Linked DNA regions of Homo sapiens: regions 2 and 3 are each linked to region 1. The links are contacts of gene promoters, found by promoter capture Hi-C in blood cells and fetal thymus (Javierre and others, 2016). All regions are on one chromosome and are shown on one strand. Each heading gives the region's core, a stretch centred on a gene start or on the middle of the fragment in contact. The rest is flanking DNA. Distances are from core to core; before and after follow the strand shown.

Evidence for each region. Contacts are between HindIII fragments. The CHiCAGO score rates a contact against its expected background, and 5 or more counts as called.
Region 2: a fragment that was not itself captured here is called in contact with the fragment with the promoter of C6orf62 in region 1 in 1 of 17 cell types (endothelial precursors); the score reaches 6.2 in endothelial precursors.
Region 3: a contact is called between a fragment that was not itself captured here and the fragment with the promoter of C6orf62 in region 1, in 2 of 17 cell types (total B cells and non-activated CD4 T cells). The highest score is 8.6, in total B cells.

What each region holds. Positions count from the first base shown.
Region 1 is chr6:24,716,546-24,720,593 of GRCh38, reverse strand. C6orf62 (chromosome 6 open reading frame 62) reads left to right here and starts at 1,440. Exons shown (of 5, transcript NM_030939.5): 1 at 1,440-2,054. The coding sequence starts at 1,926. RefSeq lists a silencer at 227-396 and an enhancer at 1-759. The HindIII fragment of the contact is 3,349 bases long and covers 1-2,284 here.
Region 2 is chr6:25,982,983-25,987,030 of GRCh38, reverse strand. It overlaps TRIM38 (tripartite motif containing 38), which reads right to left. Exons shown (of 8, transcript NM_006355.5): 8 at 1-3,867. The coding sequence ends at 3,344. Among named protein-coding and RNA genes, the nearest start is that of LINC02980, 7.7 kb to the left of the region's middle. The HindIII fragment of the contact is 4,548 bases long and covers 1-4,048 here.
Region 3 is chr6:25,965,100-25,969,147 of GRCh38, reverse strand. TRIM38 (tripartite motif containing 38) reads right to left here. Exons shown (of 8, transcript NM_006355.5): 3 at 2,215-2,813. The coding sequence starts at 2,625. Among named protein-coding and RNA genes, the nearest start is that of TRIM38, 4.3 kb to the right of the region's middle. The HindIII fragment of the contact is 2,325 bases long and covers 671-2,995 here.

The sequences.
Region 1 (4,048 bases), core at 191-2,690:
AGCGCAGGGCTTCCTTTCCCTTCCCCCTCCGCCGCCAGTACCAATCCAACTCCCCATCTTTCTCTTTGTTTTTCCTCTTTTTCTTTTTCTCTCCCTGTTGCCGCTGTCTCCGCGTCCTTCCCCTCCGTTGCCGCCCAGGGCGCCGAGCCAGACTATGGGTCCCAGGTGGGGGCTGAGCGGCGGCAGCAGCGCGGGCGGTCCAGTCACGGTGCGCACTGCAGCGGGGATGGAGGGGCTCAGTTGGCTGGTGGTTTTCTCTTGACATGGCTCCTGCCCGTGCTACCAGCAGCGCCCCCGCCGCCGCCGCCTCTTCCGCCGCCGCCACCGCTCCGCCCGCAGGCTGCGGCTAGAGGGCCCAAACCCCGCCCTAGAGTCGGTCCGTGAGTCCCGGGCTCCGCGGGGACAGGGAGGGGATTTCCCCGTCACCCACCCCGCCCTAGCTGCCTCAATTCCACCCCCTGCCCCTCGGGAAACAACTAACGACCCCACCCTAAACAATCCAAACTCTGGAAACATGGTCTGTTCAACGTGAGAGAGAGCTAATCCGGGAACTTAATTTTTTGGGGGGAGGGTGGGTGGGCTTACTTTAGAAGTAATATTAACACAATTATTTTCTTTTTTTCCCCCACTGAACCTTCCCATTTACCCTCTCCCGCCCACTCCACCCGGGCGGGAATTGTTTCCACGATGAAATGAGTGAAAACCTGAGTGATCCTGTGTCTCCCGTGGTGCGAGTGAGTCGCTGCCGCTGAAGGCAAGGGGTGGGGGTGGGACCTGCGGGGGTGGAAGGCAGGTGGTCTCCGGGCACCGCCTGGGATTTGGGAGAAGAACCCGCCACCTTTGCCTCGGCAATGCTCACAAGAAGATAAATCGCACTCCCCACCATTTTGAACGGGGGCAGATCCACAGGGAAGTCTCCCTTGGGGAATGTAGGACTAGTTGCAGGCTGGGGGTGTTGGGAACCCGGGCATTAATCAGGTCTAACCACAGAGCCGGAATAATTAATACCGTATTATATACCCCTTTTCCTTCTGCCGTCATGATTCTCCTTGGCAGCAGCGTTAGCAGCCGCCTGAGGGTGAAAATGTGGGTGATGGGGAAGTTGGTAATGACTCCGCTGTTTTTTCTCATGGCTCCTTTGGGCCACAGCTGCCCGCCCCCGGTATACACTGTAGTTGATTGCAGGGAAACCCTGTACCTCTCCCTTTCCTTCTCTACCGATTTTGCACTTTTCTCTATGCTCACCACCAAGTGTAATCAATAACAAGCACTGACAATACATAGCAATAGTGAAATCTGAAATAACTAAGAATTAGGTACTACAGCCATGGAGCTGGCTGGGTAAAATCTAATTGGATATTTCAGTTTCATTCACCTACCCTGTTTTGGTGTTTGGTTTTGGTTTTGGTTTTGGTGAGTTTTTTTTTTTTTTTTTTTTGGAAAGCAAGGATCACACTTCCCCCTCCCTGTTCCTTAATCCCTTTTCTAAAAAGGGGGGAAAATCCGGATGGATTTTAGGGATTGGTCTGGTGTCAGCTGTGTTTTATTGCACACCTAAATCCTGATTATAGGCTTTTCATTTCTCCGCAAAGCCTTTATTTTGGCAGTTAAGCCAAATGTGTTTTCCAGAAAGTTAGTTATTTTCTCCTCTTTCTTTCCTTTCTTTCCTCCCTTTTTCCCGTCTGACCCCAAACGTTATTGTCCAAACATGACTGGACAGCAGCTTTTGTTTCTTGACCCTGTAATATGACAGTCTGCTAATATTGACAGAAGGTGCAGTTTTTGGGTTATAGTCGTGATTTTCGCTAATCAATCATATTAGCAGGAAAAAAAATGACTTGTTTCTGTTGTACTTGAGTCTTAAGAAAAAGTGCCCATAGTTTAGTGACAATTTCCAAAGGCTTTAGTACCACCTGTATTTCAAAATGGGGGACCCAAACTCCCGGAAGAAACAAGCTCTGAACAGACTACGTGCTCAGCTTAGAAAGAAAAAAGAATCTCTAGCTGACCAGTTTGACTTCAAGATGTATATTGCCTTTGTATTCAAGGAGAAGGTAATTTAAAGTTCTTAATGGTGAATTAGCACAAGTAATTTTTGTAAGTGTATATTATTTGTTACTCTTAAATTATTATGAATATTAGGTTAAAGAGTGGTTGAAAAAAAGTCTGCTTTGTATGCTCTGTTTTTTCACCCTTAGGGGTGATTCTGTGAATTGAGCAGTTGCAGCATGCGAAAAGACCCTTGAGCGTTCTTTGGTTTGGAAATAAATTTGAGTCTGAAGCTTAGTAGTAGTATACACTGAGTTGACATGGGGTGGGCAAGATTACAAAATTTTATATGGAGTTAACATGGGAAACCTTATGATGGAATTTAAAGATTATCTAATGTAGAGTATAAATAAGATGGTTGAAAGTGTGAAATTGTAATCAGACTGTTTATATGCTAAAGTTTATCCTGTTTCTTAAACTGCGTAATGTAGGTAACCTTTTCTCTTACATTTAATGAAGTAGAATACACCTTTTAGGAGCAATTAAATACTGAAATGGTTAATTTGTGTTTAGAAGTGTGATTTTCTTTTTTACTTAGAGTTCATTTTGCCTTGTATAGAAGTACAGTTTTTAAAAACTCAAAATGACCTAGAGGAAGTTTCATTTTTAGGGGCGGTGGAGGTCTTAATCAGAATTAGTTCCGCAGTTAAATAGCAAACAGTAAGTTGTGAGTAGTCAAGGATGGGATGATAAGAGCAGTATTTTTTGCAACTTAAAATGAACATTTTCTTAAATTATCAGCAAGGCTTATTTGACCAAAGATGAGGTTATGAATGTAAGGAAGTGCTACTTGGATTTTGGTGCTTAAATTGTTAGCTAATTTCAGATCAGAAATACAATCTTAGTGTGGTATCTATTAAGTATCTGGAAGTTTTCCAGGTTTCCCCCTACTGTTTAACTCTTATTATTTTTGTTGCTGAGACAGGCCTCACTGTATTGCCCAGGCTAGTCTTGAACTCCTGGGCTAAAGTGATCCTCCTGTCATGGCATTTTAAAGTGCTGGGATTACAGGCAGGAGCTGCCACGCACAGCCCCAACTCTTAACTCCTAAAAGGTTATTTGTATTTAAGAACATTCTTAGCTGCTGAAGTATAGCATTGTGAAGTGATTTTTAAGTAATTTTTGAAGTGACTGTCCCAAGATTGGGTGGTATCAAGGACTTACATCTCCACTTTTGTTTTGTTGACAAGCTGACTCAAAATTGATGAGATTGGATTTTAGTTGAAGATGATACAGTGTATGCTCTTTAAATAAATCCAAGATAATAAGTAGTGAGACCATATCTTTGTATTTAATCTATATATTGCCCCAAATTGCACCATCTTAATTCTTTAACACCAACGATAATCTGGTTTTATTCTGTGAATGGACAGTGTCCATGCAGTTGCCCTGAATAATTCATGATATATACTTAATAGTACAGAATTTTAAAAAGTAGTTTAGTGATGCGTACTTGGTCTTGAGTAGTATTAAAAGAGAACTTGGTGTGCTTCTTTTTAGTCTTTCAAATATTGATGGTTTTGGCTGGGTGCAGTGGCTCACGGCTGTAATCCCAGCACTTTGGGAGGCTGAGGCAGGCGGATCACTTGAGGTCAGGAGTTCAAGGCCAGCCTGGCCAAATGGTGAAACCCTGTCTCTACTGAAAATACAAAAATTAGCCAGGTGTGGTGGCGCAGGCCTGTAATCCCAGCTACTCGAGAGGCTGAGGCAGGAGATCCCCTCGAACCCAGGAGGCAGAGGTTGCAAGTGAGCCAAGATGGTGCCACTGCCCTCTAGCCTGGGCAACACAGTGAGACTCCATCTCAAAAAAAAAAAAGAAAAACCAGAAATATTGATGGTTTTGATAATGTAATATTGAGAAAGTAATGGAAATTGGCCCATATAAGGAATAAAACTATTCATTTGTCTGAATAGCGTTGTTTTAAAACTGGTGAGATTTTTAATTTTAAGAAGTATTGTCCAAAATAGTGCTATGGATACCATTATGCTATAAAACTCA
Region 2 (4,048 bases), core at 871-3,370, 1.3 Mb before region 1:
AAAAAAGCTAATCTTTCTGACTTCTTAAGTGTGGCCATGTACTAAATTCTGGCTAATGCAAGGCAAGCCAAAGGTTTTATGATAGGTTTTAGGACACTAGAGTAAAAGAGAGCTGTTGCACACATGCTCTTCACCCTACTTTTGTGTCCTTTTTTCCATCCTACAACTTGGGTTGTGAGTATGATGGCTGGAACTTTAGTGGCTCTCTTGGATCCCAGGGGTAATTGAGGGGTGGCTGGAAGGAATCTGTGATTTTCTGGAGTTTCCATACACAAACAAGACCTGGATTTTCTGGGCTTCCCAGACTTCCACATCTAGACTTGCTTTAAATGGGAGAGAAATAAACTTGTTTCAGCCACTGTCATTTTGGGCTATTTTATAGAACTTAATCTAATCTTCAAGGGTACATGAATTGCTTTTCCTTAAAAAAAAAATCAGCCATAAAATCATCTTCTTTTTTCTTTTGTTCCCCACATTATTTAGTTGGAGCTCTGTAACTTTTTTTTTTTTTTTTTTTGAGACAAGGTCTTGCTCTGTCACTTAGGCTGGAATTCAGTGGCATGACCATGGCTCACTGCAGCCTTGCCCTCCTAGGCTCAAGCAATCCTCGTCTCAGCCTCCTGAGTAGCTGAAACTAAGGCACATGCCACCATGCCCAGCTAATTTCTTTTCTTTTAGAGATGGGAGCCTTGCCCAGGCTAGTCTCAAACTCCTAGCCTCAAGTGATCCTCCCATCTCAGCCTCCCAAAGTGACAGGATTACAGGTGTGAGCCACCATGCCTGGCTGCTCTGTAAGTGTCTGAATTTCATTTTGTATTTATCAGTCTGTTTAGATTTTCTTTCCCTTCTTGGGTCAGTTAGGCCATTGGTTTCTTTTTAAAGGTTTTCAAATTTATTTGCATCTAATTCTTCAAATTACTCTCAAAATTATTCCAGTATATATTCTTTTGTTCCTATTTTCTTCTGTATTCTTTATTAAAATAGCTAATGATTTATCTAGCAGGACTTATATTCTTTCCATAACTTTCCTGCACCCCAATTAATCTCCAATTTTATATTTCTTCTGGCCTTCCTTATAGTTTCCACAGGTTTATTTTATTCATTTTTTAAAACTTTTATTTAATTGTTTATTTTATTATCATTCTTTCTTATTCAGCAATCTAAGTGCTTAGGGATATAGAATTTCCTCTAAGCAGCATATGCTAGGCTTTAACAATGTTAGGGAGGCCTCCCCTTTCTGGGGAAGACCACACTTACATTAACACAGGACTGTGGGATGCCAAGAGGTAGAGAAGAGCTTATGAATATCCAGATTACATCTTCACTGATCCTGCACAAAGGTGGGGTTCCTCGGTTACCCACTGGGTCCTATTACCCAAGTCTGGGTCAGCATACCGAGACTACGGGTATATAGAACAAGTGCAACTGGCGATAATCCTTCTGTTGGGGAGAAAAATCTTTTTTTTCTATTCATCTTAGGTTCTCCATCTGTGGCCCTATCAAGTAGACTAACAAAAGACAGATTGACAAGACAGAAACAAAGCATGTGCATTGTACAAACACAGGGGAGTACTGAGATGAATACTCAAAAGAGGATTTAGAACTTGGGCTTATATAGCATTTTAAGAAAAGAATACATTTTTTAAGTGACAAGGAAGACGAAAAGGACTTTGAGTTTCTAGTGCAGTAAATTGTGGGAAGGCAACTTTTTCTTTCCCTTTTTTTTTTTTTTTTTTTAAAAAAAAAGACTTCTCTGGTGCTATGTCCAGGCTGATAAGAGTCTAAAGTCTCTGGTGACTAACTTTTGTTCTTCCCCGAGTAAGAAGACACCTTCACAATTTCATATCCTGCTTTTAGGCAAATAGGGAGAGGGCAGAGGTGTTTGTTTGTTTTTAATCTATTTTTTTTCTCAATTGTCTTCAACTCAAAATACTTCTTATGCCAAAGATGGCATATTCTGCTACCCTTCACTTACTACTTACAACCCAGCCTCTATCATCATAATTAGAACTTCTGACCCTGGGGAACATGGGCAATAGTTTGAACTCTTTTATATCTCCCTTAGGCAGAGATGGAGGCCCAGCCATGCCTCTGACATCTAGACACAACTGTTGCTTCATTTCTCCTATTCTCAGAGGTGATGTTGTAGGACTTCAACAAATATCAGTAAACATTAATTTTTTTTTTCCTTGAGGCACAGCATGATCTTGGCTTACTGCAGCTGCTGCAGGCTCAAGCAATTCTCCTGCCTTGGCCTCACGAGTAGCTGGGTTACAGGCCCCTACCACCATGCCCGGCTAATTTTTGTATTTTTAGTAGAGACAGGGTTTCACCATGTTGGCCAGGCTGGTGTTGAACTCCTGACCTCAAGTGATCCACCTGCCTCAGCCTCACATAGTTCTGGGATTACAGGCGTGAGCCACCATGCCTGGCCATCAATTTTTATGTCAACTCTAAATTATAACATTTAGCAATTTTGTGACTTTTTATGGTCATCATTAATGTTGTTTATGTTTTAGTTGTAGTCCTGTCATTACTCACTCGGGTATGGTAATTTGGTCTTTTTCAAAATGAAGTTAAGGTCTATTTGCTCTTCTCTGAATCATAATAAGAACTGCCAACAGCCATTTCAGCAATAACTATTTACTGAGATTTTAAAATATTTCAAGGTAATTGGTCCTAGCAGACTGGAAAATACCAAATTCTTTTCCAGAACTGAATCCCCCATCAAAGTTCAATTTTACTCATAATTCCCTTTTCATTTGAAGCATCTCATTGTAAGCCAGTCTTAACCCTTCTCTCACACTTTGCTTGGCTGTTTCTCAGGTAGAACTCAGTAAGTCTGGTAGCCTCCAGGACTGCCGCTTAGATTATTAAACAACATGTCAGTGGTTGGAAGAGTCAATGTTATTTTGATTTTTCTGTTTTGTTTTGTTTTAAATGCAGTTGGCGGATAATTGCAGCTTTCTTTCATTCCCTACATGAGTTCAAATGGCAGCAAACAAACTAGGAGAACGCAGACCTTCTGACTTGTGGGTACCCCTACTCATCACCTGAAGACCCTTGGAAATCAAAGCCCTGACCCATTAAAGACGGATGGAGACAGCAACATACGATCATCACTATTATCTTGCTTTGCCCCAGTCCAGGTTAACCATCTGTGGTATTTTTAGTTGCTAAGTCCATATATTCAACATAAATCAATTATATATCCACTAAAATCTCAGCACTAGTCTAACTACTAAGGAAATGACAGCGAAGAAAACAGACCAAACGTCTGCCCTTATGGGATTTATATTATTTTCTCTGTGCTGGTTAAACCAAGGAGCTTCTGCTCTTTTCCTTAGTCACCTGGGGGAGGCAGAAACAAAGGAGAATATTGATAAACCTGGAAATAGGGCCGGAGAGTATCAGAGAAGGAAGCCTTCGGGAAAGTAAAGATGTGGCAGCCAGTATTCCCGTTATAAAAGGATACAACTCCGGCCTCATAGTCCAGAAAAATTCCCACAAGCAGGGGCTGCTCATGCAGATGAAGGGAAGTTGGGGGAGAAGTAAGTGCTACATAGCCTTTCTTTTTGCACAGCCTGAGGGTCCAGAATCCAGACTGAGGCTCTTGCTTCATGCCAGTGCCCCTCTGCACATTTTCCATACAAACTCCTAAATCCCATCCGGTTCCTTCGCCAACATCCACTTCAAAGTAACGTCTTCCTGAGGTGAAGCCTTCACAACCCAAGACACAGGGGAAGGCAGTAAATCTCCTGGAAGATGTGTCCTGATTCTCCTGGGTGTATCCACGAGTCACTTGTCTCCGATCCTCAGAGAGAATTAGTTCGTGATGAGCTGTATCTGGATCCAGAGTCACACTAACTGCAAAACAAAACAAAACAAACAAAAATAATTTTGTTGCTGTGAAGAACACAGGTTATTTTATTTTATTTTATTTTGAGATGGAGTGTTGCTGTCACCCAGGCTGGAGTGCACTGGCACTATCTCAACTCACTGCAACCTCCACCTCCTGGATTCAGGCAATTCTCCTGCCTCAGCCTCC
Region 3 (4,048 bases), core at 584-3,083, 1.2 Mb before region 1:
GGCAACCCTGAATAGTTGGTAGGATTTTAAACTTCATTTCTGTGCTGTAGAAAATGAGACTAAGAAAGGGGTAAAATAACTTGCCCAAAGGGCTATGACTGCCAGGTGGTGGAGCAACAATTGCAATCTCATCTGCTGACCCAGAGCCTGAGCTATGTCCACCACTAGAGTCCTGCCAGGAAAAAGTTGGATATAGAACAAGGTAATCATCATCTAAAAGATTTTGTAAAACAACATGCTGAACCAAGCAAAACCAATACCAGTGTTTGGCACACATGAAATTTTGTGTCTTATGAGTCAGGAAAAATCAGGATGCCAGCTGGTTATTAGAAACAGTTCATGGAAGAGGGGAATTCTGGTATCTTTTGAACAATGGTATCATGAATCCAATTTAAAATGATTTAGTATTCATGTCAAGCTTTTAGCTTATTCTTCAAAACAGTTTCTCATATTTCTATTGAAAGTGATTTGAAGCTGACCCAAATTGCTAATTGTAGTCAATGCTGAAAGAATTGTCTCCTGTCCTCTGTAAACCCAACAAGTATACTCATTCATTCTCGAGTGTTCTCAGGAAAAGGTTCTATGTAACTGTTTTAGCAAAAGATGACATTGTCCTTACTATATGCCAAGTGCTATTCTATGCATTCTATATTTTAATGTCCTCAAAGCTTATAACCACCTCCTGTGTATGTGTTTTAGGGAGGGAGGACACTGCTATTATCCCCATTTACAGATGGAGAAACCAAGGTGTGAAGACATTAAGTAACGTGCCCAAAATTGCCCATCTAGTAAGTGACAAAACTCAATTTCAACATAAGCTGGTTCCTTTTCTTACTACTTGGTGGAAAAGTAATTCAAATGGGAATATGATCATCGCAGTTATTAGCTGCTCCATGGAGTTTAAGGAAGAGCTGCCATGAGCTGAGTGGTGGTCATGATTGACATGTCCTTAGAAGGACTTAGAGCCTTCATACAAGACCACCTCTGCCTCATGGAGGACAGAATAAGGAGCCTGACACTGGAGACAACATTTTCCTCAAATTTAGGCAGGACAGAGAAGGAAAAAGGACATCAGGACTATGCCCATTCCTCCATGCTGCCAACAGCAAAGTCCCACCTTCCTTAATATGCTTTCTGGCAAGAAATCTGGATGGTACACAAAACCTCTCCCTCTGCTTCACCTTCCACAACCAAGCATTTCCAAATCTTTGACTCTTCTTCCTGAATCGTGCTTAAAATCTGCCCTCTCCTCCCTTTCTTATACGGATAGTTTGAATTTTACTCCTTGATATTCCTTTTATCATAGACATGCCACAGTAGCTGGGCACAGTGGTTCATGCCTCTAATCCCAGCATTTTGGGAGGCTGAGATGGGAGGGAGACCAGGGGTTTGAGGCCAGTATAAGCAAGAAAGGCAGACCATGTCTCTACAAAAAATAAAAAAATTATCCAGGTATGGTGGGGCATCCCTGTAGTCCTAGCTACTTGGGAGGCTGAGGTGGGAGGATTGCTTGAGCCCCAGAAGGTTGAGGCTGCAGTGAGCCGAGATTGCACCATTGTACTCCAACCTGGGATACAGAGCAAGACCCTACCTCAGGAAAAAAAAAAAAAAAAAAAAAAAAAAGTAGAGGTACCAGAGTGATATTTTCAATGTCACTGACCCTTCATTCCCCAAATGAAAATCCCCCAATAGGTGTTCAATTTTTACGTGTCCTTCAGGAGTTACTTCTAAGATGAACCACTCTCTACCCTAAATGTCCCTCCCCACCACCAAAACCAGGGACCTCCAGGCAGACATTTTTGATGGTTTGTTTTCTTTACTAGACTGTAGATACCTAAAAGGTGATGGGTCTTTCTTCCCTGTTTTCAGGCCCTACTGCATGGCTTTACATATTGTGGTTTTTCAAATGATATTCATGGTGTGAAACAAGAAAAAATGCGGGTGTTTGGTTTGAGAACAACCTGTTCTAAAGCAAAAAGAAATTCATCATAACACAAATGGATAGAGATAAGAGTCCAACCATCCCATTGAAGGTCAGGATGGACAGTCTAGATAATTGAGCAAGAAATCATCATAAACTATTTTTCAGAAGAATGACATGATGAAAGCTGTATTTCCAAGTCATAATGTTAGGTTTCAAGTTAAATCATCTCAGCTCCTGGGGAGCAGGATAAGACTTGGTACTTACCAAAGCTCCCGGGCCCACACACTCACCTTGTAGCCCTGGCATACGTCTTCAACAAGAGCTGTGGTGTGCCCTTTGTGCTGTGGTGCCCGCTCACAGCGCCAGCAGATGAGCTGCCCCTCGTCTTCGCAGAACAGGTGGAACTGCTCTCCGTGTTCCTCACATGACATTTCTTGATCCGTCTCTTTGAGGGCTTCAATGAGGCTTCCCAGCTGCTTGTTGGGTCGGAGGCTATCCATATGAAATGGAGCCCGACACTGGGGACAGCAGAATGTCTCCTGCCTCAGTTGCTTTTGGCTTGGGTTTTTAAAGAAGTCTGTTATACACAAGTGGCAGTAGCTGTGTCCACAGTTGATGCTTACTGGGTTCGTCATCAGGCTCAGGCAGATGGAGCAGGTGGCTTCCTCCATCATCTTCTTGGTGCTGGTGGTTGAGGCCATAGCTTTTATTGAAAAGCTCCAATATTGGCTCTAGAGATGGAGATGAAGCAGCCAGAATTTTCCACCGTGATGAAAATACACCTCACCTGCACCTCTATGTGATGAGCTGGCTGCAACTGACTTCCATAGGTCTTGAAGGTTTTCCTTCCAACCCCTATTATCTCATTTTGTATTGAAGAAAAGAGGACCTAAAAGGAAGAAGTTGAGGCTGAGGTTGTTTGGGCCACGTTTGAGAACTGCAACCCAAGTGCAGAGTTTCAAGTTGCCCTCATTAGCAAGCAGTTACAAGTGGTTGTTTAGAGGAAAAAAAGCAGTTTTAAAGCAGTTTTAAAGTTGTTTGCCAAGAATTTACATTAAAATAGCATAAGCTTTTGACTGGCTATACATTGTTCTTTGTATTACAAATCTCGGGAATATGTAGGTAATAGATGAGGCAGCCAGTCAGGAACAAAATGCTTTTAAACATGGGGTCTTAACTGAAGACCTATACTCCTGCCTCACTTGTCCTGATAAATTTTGCATACCTCACATAGCTCAGACTGCTCTAAATTATTTCATTATTTTTCTTTTCTCAGTCTTCTAACTTTTTTTTTTTTTTTTAATGAGACGGAGTCTCACTCTGTCACCCAGGCTGGAGTGCAGTGACGCTATCTCGGCTCACTGCACCTCCGCCTCCCGGGTTCAAGCGATTCTCCTGCCTCAGCCTCCCGAGTAGTAGCTGGGTCTACAGGTGTGCACCACTACGCCCAGCTAATTTTTGTATTTTTAGTAGAGATGGGGTTTCACCATGTTGGTTGGCTCGATCTCTTGACCTTGTGATCCACCCGCCTCAGCCTCCCAAAGTGCCAGGATTACAGGCATGAGCCACCGTGCCCAGCCTCTTTTTCTTTTCTTATAAGACAAGTTCTCGCTCTCTTGCCCAGGCTGTAGTGGAGGGCAGTGGCATGACCACAGCTCACTGCAGCCTCGACCTCCTGGGTTTAAGCAATCCTCCTGCCTCACCCTGGCAGAGTGGCTGGGACTACAGGTATGTGCCACCATGTCCAGCTAAAGTCTTCTCTCCAGAAAGAAGAAATGCATTGGAATTTAGAGGATACACAAACATCTAGCTGTATAGCTAATACAGTAGCCACTATCATGAGTAGGAATTTAAATTTAACTTAATAAAAATTAAAATGAAAAAATTCAGTTTTTCTGTTCCAGTTGCCACATTTTGATTGCTTAATAGTTGCATGTGACTAGTGGCTACATAACAGCCTCAATATACAACATTCTGTTATCACAGAAAGTTACCTTGGACCAAGTGCTGGGAGAAGCAATGCAGGCTTCCTCACAAAAGCTGTAAAAGAGAGAACTCAGGGAGTGTGAAACTCTTTCCTATTCTAGTTAACTTCAAGAATAATTGTTACCAGGCCAGCACGGT